2 separate regions of the Homo sapiens genome follow, and region 2 is linked to region 1. Evidence: promoter capture Hi-C in human tissues and cell types (Jung and others, 2019). All regions are on one chromosome and are shown on one strand. The core of a region is centred on a gene start or on the middle of the fragment in contact, and the rest is flanking DNA. Distances in the headings are between cores, read along the strand shown. Region 1 holds the start of PRADC1 (protease associated domain containing 1). Region 2 has its middle 11 kb from the start of ZNF638.

Region 1 (3,332 bases), core at 535-3,034:
CACCCAGGCTGGAGTGCAGTGGCGCCATCTCGCCTCACAGCAACCTCCACCTCCCAGGCTCAAGCGATTCTCATGCCTCAGCCTCCCAAATAGCTGGGACTACAGGCGTGCGCCACCATGCCTGGCTAATTTTTTTTTGTATTTTTTAGTAGAGAGGGTTTCGCCATGTTGACCAGGCTGATTTTTTTTTTTCATTTTTTAAATAGGAATGGGGTCTCGCCTTGTTGCCAGGGCTTGTGATCCTCCCACCTTGGCTTACCAAAGTCCTGGGATTACAGGCGTGAGCCACCGCACCTGCCCTGGATTCATAATTTTTAAATATCTGCCTCTTCCACTTTGTAACTTCATTCAGTGAAGAGTCACCAGTGTCTTGCACAGTGGCTACAATATAGGGATAGCCCTATAAACTTTCCTGAATGGGTGAACAACTATATCTAGCTCCACAGCACCGATGAAGAGAATTTCCAGACCACTAGATTTTTCTGGGGCATGGGATCTTCTCCTCAGCACCAAAGTTTAATGTTGTACCTGGACTTGAGTCCCTGGTTTCCTTAACCCAGAGAGACTGCGGAATGTTGAAAGATAAAAACTGCTGTCATGGGCGGGCGCGGTGGCTCACGCCTGTAATCCCAGCACTTTGGGAGGCCGAGGCGGGCAGATCACGAGGTCAGGAGATCGAGACCATCCTGGCTAACACGGTGAAACCCCCGTCTCTACTAAAAATACAAAAAAATTAGCCGGGCGTGGTGGTGGGCGCCTGTAGTCCCAGCTACTTGGGAGGCTGAGGCAGGAGAATGGCGTGAACCCGGGAGGCGGAGCTTGCAGTGAGCCGAGATCGGGCCACTGCACTGCAACCTGGGCGACAGAGCAAGACTCCGTCTCAAAAAAAAAAAAAAGAAAAAAAGAAAACTGCTGTCACAAGTCTGTTAGTCTATCAACAAACTACCAAGTCACTACTGTGTACCAAGGATGGCATTAAGGCTTTAGCTGTCTTTGTTTACTGCCCAAATCACAGCCATCAGTTAGAGCTCCCATGGCTTGGCACTGGGCTATACAGTCCTGGGAGTGGGGACTCCCTCTCGGATACAAATACACCCCCAGAAAGCCTTCCTGGACTAGCGTCAAACTCACTCCCTCCTCCCCAACCCTTGCTTGCCTTTGTGTGTGCTTATTTGTGTAAGTTGTGGGTATACGTATGTGCTCACTTATGTGCATAGATGTATACATTTATGTGCTTGTGTAGGTGTAAACGGTTTGTGCGTGTGTGCCCACGTGTAGGAATGTGTGCTCCTGTGTACATGTGAATGCTCACATACATATCTCCAGCCTGTAGTATCCTTCCTTAGCTGTCCCTTCTGGTCGCACCCTAAGTCACCTGGGTCGGCGCTAGTGGGCGGGGAGGGGCGAGTGGGGAGATCTGCTTTGTCGTGGGAAGGTGAGGAGTCAGAGCTTCAGCCTCAGGCTGCGCCCACTTTATGTCCTTGGACCACCACCCACTTATTCCGGCCGCCCGCTCCCAGACCTGTCCTGCTCTGAACTCGCAGGGTCCCCAAGGTGACCCTTGGCCCCCAACCCGAGACGCGCGCAAGCTGGACGGCCAGCCCCGCCCTGCAACGCAGTCCCACCCGTTGCCGCTCACCGTGGGCCGCGACGCACGCGGGGAGCCAGAGCACGAGACAACACCAGCCCGCGGCGCCGGGGACCATCTCCAGGGCCGGGCCCGGCCCGGCGCCGCGTTTCCTCTCGCCGCCCCGCCGCGCGTCGCTCGCAGGACTTCAGCCTGACAGCTGCTCCGGCCTCCCGCCCACATACCCGCTCTCGCCGCGGGCTGGACGACGGGAACGAGGCTCAAGGCTGATTGGCTCTGACGCCTGCTCATGTAGCCACACTTTCCGCCTCTGCGCCTTAGCCTACTTCCTATTGGTCGAGAGAAGTGGAGCCGGGGGCTGATTGGCTTAAACTCTTAACAGCTACAACCGGCCTTCGCCTCAGCCCCGCCCCAGCATACTCTCCGGGTCCTCGCTGGCGGTGGGCGGGCCAGGGAGGACAAGCACTGGAGGTGTGCCCGTAGCCGGACTTGCTTCAGCTGTCGATAGTCGAGGCCGTTAACCCTTGCGGTCTCGGTCCTGTCCACTCCAAGGCCGCCTCGATTGACGACGATTAGCCTTCTCCCAGCTGCGCTTCCCTCCTCCCAGCTGCGCTTCCCTCCTCCCCACGCCTTCACGGGAAGGCACTCGTCTTGCGCCAGGGGGTCTTCCGCCCAGTGCCACCAACGCTTGCGCGCTCACCGTGGATAGGCGCTGGGGCCGCGGCCTGGCGCACGCCATCCACGAGGAGCCTCTGGCCAGTGCAAAGCCAGAAAACGGGCATTGGGGGCAGCTTCCCACGCTCGTCCCGTTGACACTGACTATGTAACTGTGACACTGGACACCTTGACCTCTCAGCCTCCTTTCTGTCATCAGTAAAATGGCCTTAATAGGACCAACGCAATAGGGTTGTGAGGATTAAATGAGATCGCTCACGTAAAGTGCTTTGGCACCAGCCTATCCCACACTTTGCGTCCCACACTTTTGCCTTTATTGCATTCCTTGGTCTGGCGTCCGGGGATGGAGGAGGGTGGAATTAAGTTAGTAGGTGATGCGGGCCGAGCAAAGACCCTCCGTGCTCTAAGAAGCACGACCGAAATGCGGCGACCCCTCTTTAATGAACGCCCCTCACTAGAGAGTCCCCGAAGCCCAGCCTCAGGTCCTTCTAGCCGCACCGAGTCGGTGGTAACGAACCATAGAGTAGCGGAAGTGGTCCGTTCTCTTCCTCTCCCGGCCCAAGCTTCTGGGTATTTCTATTGCGCGAGGCATTGTGGGTTGCTGGGCGGCCCGGTCTCGGAGAAGAGGGGAGAGTGGCGGGCCGCTGAATAAGCTTCCAAAATGATGGTGAGTGGCGTCTCGCGCATCCGTCGCCATCAGCTGCCATCTGGCCGGTGGCCGGCGCCGCTCGGCCTGGGCTTGCTCTGTAGGACCCTCTTTTGCTTGCCGCCTCTGTCCTCGCCCAGATCCCCAGCTTAGGGGCGACCCCAGCCAGCCGCGGCCTGGCTCGGCCCGAGCACGGCGCTGGAGCCGTTGGCGAGGGCTGCGTGGGGCTTTAGAGGAGTCTCTGGGCTGGCCGGTTGGGGACTACAAGTCCCAGGGTGCTTCGGGCCCGCGAACCCACGTCGGGGACCTCTTTTTTAGCCCCGCATGATCGGGACTTGCGTGAAACGAGTGCAGGTCGGCCGTGGTTACGCGGTCGGCAGCTAGACTTGGAAGCTGGGGCTGCTCTGAGATTTGCGGGCTGTA
Region 2 (3,332 bases), core at 298-2,797, 1.9 Mb before region 1:
CGTTTAATTTGTAGATTGCTTTTGACAGTATGGTCATTTTCACAATATTGATTTTACTCATTCATGAGGATGGGCTATGTTTCCATTTGTTTGTGTCATCTATGATTTCTTTCAGCAGTGTTTTGTAGTTTTCCTTGTAGAGGTCTTTCAAGTCCTTGGTTAGGTATATTCCTGAGGTTTTTTTTTTTTTTTTTTTTTTTTGCAGCTATTGTAAAAGAGGTTGAGTTCTTGATTTGATTCTCAGCTCGGTTGCTGTTGGTGTATAGAAGGGCTACTGATTTGCGTACATTAATTTTGTATCTGGAAACTTTGTTGAAAAACTTTCTTTTATCAGTTCTAGGAGCTTTCTGGAGGAGTCTCTAGGGTTTTCTAGGTAAACAATCATATCATCAGCAAACAGTGACAGTTTGACTTCCTCTTTCCTTATTTGGGTGCCCTTTATTTCTTTCTCCTGTCTGATTGCTCTGGCTAGGACTTCCAGTACTATATTGAAGAGGAGTGGTGAGAGTGGGCATCCTTGTTTTGTTCCAGTTCTTGGAGGGAGTGCTTTCAACTTTTCCCCATTCCGTATTATGTTGGCTGTGGGTTTGTCATAGATGGCTTTTATTACATTGAGATATGTCCCTTGTATGCTGATTTTGCTGAGAGTTTTAATCATGAAAGGATGCTGGATATTGTCGAGTGCTTTTTCTGTATCTATTGAGATGATTATGTGATTTCTGTTTTTGATTCTGTTTATGTGGTATATATCATATTTATTGACTTGCATATGTTAAACCATCCCTGCATTCCTGGTATGAAAGCCACCTGATCATGGTGGATTATCTTTTTGATATGTTGCTGGATTCAGTTAGCTAGTATTTTGTGAAGAATTTTAGCATCTATGTTCATCAGGGATATTGGTCTGTGGTTTTCTTTTTTGGTTATGTCCTTTCCTGGTTTTGGTATTAGGGTGATACTGGCTTCATAGAATGATTTAGGGAGGGTTCCCTCTTTCTCTATCTTGTGGAATAGTGTCAATAGCATTGGTACCAATTCTTCTTTGAATGTCTGTTAGAATGCTGCTGTGAATCCTTCTGGTCCTGGACTTTTTGTTGTTGGTAATTTTTTTTATTACCATTTCAGTCTTGCTGCTTGTTATTGGTCTGTTCAGAGTATCTAATTCTTCCTGATTTAGGCTAGAAAGGTTGTATCTTTCCAGAAATGTATTCATCTCCTCTAGGTTTTCAAGTTTATGCACGTAAAGGTGTTTATAGTAGCCTTGAATGATCTTTTGTGTTTCTGTGGTGTCAGTTGTGATATCTCCCGTTTTCATTTCTAACTGAGCTTATTTGGATTTTCTCTCTTTTTTTTTTTTTTGGTTAATCATGCTAATGGTCTATCAATTTTGTTTATCTTTTCAAAGAACCAGCTTTTTGCTTCATTTATCTTTTGTATTTTTTTGTTTCAATTACATTTAGTTCTGCTCTGATCTTGGTTATTTCCTTTCTTCTGCTGGGTTTGGGTTTGATTTGTTCTTGTTTCTTTAGTTCCTTGAGATGTGACCTTATATTGTCTGTTGGTGCTCTTTCAGACTTTTTGTTGTAGGCATTTAGGGCTATGAACTTTTTTCTTAGCACCACCTTTGCTGTATCCCAGAGGTTTTAATAGGTTGTGTCAGTATTGTTGTTCAGTTCAAAGAATTTTTAAATTTCCATCTTGATTTCATTTTTGACCCAGTGATCATTCAGGAGCAGGTTATTTAATTTCCATGCATTTGCATGATTTTGAAGGTTCTTTTTGGAGTTGATTTCCAGTTTTATTCCACTGTGGTCTGAGAGAGTGCTTGATATAATTTCAATTTTCTTGAATTTATTGAGGCCCATTTTGTGGCTTGTCATATGGTCTATCTTGGAGAATGTTCCATGTGCTGTTTAATAGAATGTGTATTCTGCGGTTGTTGGGTACAATGTTCTGTATATCTGTTAAGTTCATTTGTTCCAGGGTATAGTTTAAATTGTTTCTTTGTTGACTTTATCTTGATGACGTGTCTAATGCTGTCAGTGGAGTACTGAAGTCTCCCACTATTATTGTGTTGCTGTCTATCTCATTTCTTAGGTCTATTAGTAATTGTTTTATAAATTTGGGAGCTCCAGTGTTAGGTGCATATGTTTAGGATTATAATATTTTCCTGTTAGACAAAGCCTTTTATCATTATATAATGTTCCTCTTTGTCTTTTTAAACTGCTGTTGCTTTAAAGTTTGTTTTATCTGATACAAGAATATCTACTCCTGCTTGCTTTTGGTGTGTCTCTTGAAGGCAGCAGATAGTTGGTTGGTAAATTCTTATCTATTCTGCAGTTCTGTATTTTTTAAGTGGAGCATTTAGGCCATTTACATGCAACGTTAGTATCGAGATGTGAGGTACCATTCTGTTCATTAATTGTTTCATTTGTTGTCTGTAGACCTTGGGTTTTTTTGTTTGTTTGTTTTATAGGTCCTGTGAGATTTATGGTATAAAGAGGTTCTGTTTTGATGTGTTTCCAGGATTTGTTTCAAGATTTAGAGCTCCTTTTAGCAGTTCTTGTAGTGCTGGTTTGGTAGTTGTCAATTGTCTCAGCATTTGTTTGTGTGAAAAAGACTTTATCTTTCCTTCACTTATGAAGCTTAGTTTTGCTGGGTACAAAATTCTTGGCTGATAATTTTTTTTTTTTTTTTTTCGAGATGGAGTCTCACTCTGCTGCTCAGGCTGGAATGCAATGCTGTGATGTCAGCTCACTGCAACCTCTGCCTCCCGGGTTCAAGCAATTCTCCTGCATCAGCCTCCTGAGTAGCTGGGATCACAGACATGTGCCACCATGACCAGCTAATTTTTGTATTTTTAGTAGAAACGGGGTTTCACCATGTTGGCCAGGCTGGTCTCAAACTCCTAACCTTGTGATCTGCCCACCTAGGCCTCCCAAAGTGCTGGGATTACAGGCGTGAGCCATCACGCCTGGCCTATTGGCTGATAATTGTTTTGTTTGAGGAGGCTGAAGACAGGGCCCCAATCACTTCTAGGTTGTAGGGTTTCTGCTGAGAAATGTGCTGTTAATCTGATAGGTTTTCCTTTATAGGTTACCTGGTGTTTTTGCCTCACAGTTCTTAAGATTCTTTCCTTTGTCTTAACTTTATATAACCTGATGACAATGTGCCTGGGTGATGATCTTTTTGTGATGAATTTCCCAGGTGTTCTTTGAGTTTCTTGTATTTGGATATCTAGTTCTCTAGCAAGACCAGGGAAGTTTTCCTCAATTATTCCCCTAAATATGTTTTCCAGACTTTTAGATTTCTCTTCTTTTTCAAGAATGCTG

Evidence for each region. The method cuts DNA at HindIII sites, captures the fragments that hold promoters and counts their contacts. A contact is called where the count stands out against the background at its distance.
Region 2: a contact is called between a fragment that was not itself captured here and the fragment with the promoter of PRADC1 in region 1, in 1 of the 25 tissues and cell types used here (aorta).

The regions. Positions count from the first base shown.
Region 1 is chr2:73,231,455-73,234,786 of GRCh38, forward strand. PRADC1 (protease associated domain containing 1) reads right to left here and starts at 1,785. Exons shown (of 5, transcript NM_032319.3): 1 at 1,640-1,785. The coding sequence starts at 1,706. CCT7 (chaperonin containing TCP1 subunit 7) reads left to right here and starts at 2,854. Exons shown (of 12, transcript NM_006429.4): 1 at 2,854-2,930. The coding sequence starts at 2,925. RefSeq lists a silencer at 1,832-2,041 and enhancers at 2,329-2,860, 2,502-2,551, 2,672-2,741. The HindIII fragment of the contact is 5,775 bases long and covers 1-3,332 here.
Region 2 is chr2:71,318,967-71,322,298 of GRCh38, forward strand. No RefSeq gene overlaps it. Among named protein-coding and RNA genes, the nearest start is that of ZNF638, 11 kb to the right of the region's middle. The HindIII fragment of the contact is 5,244 bases long and covers 1-3,332 here.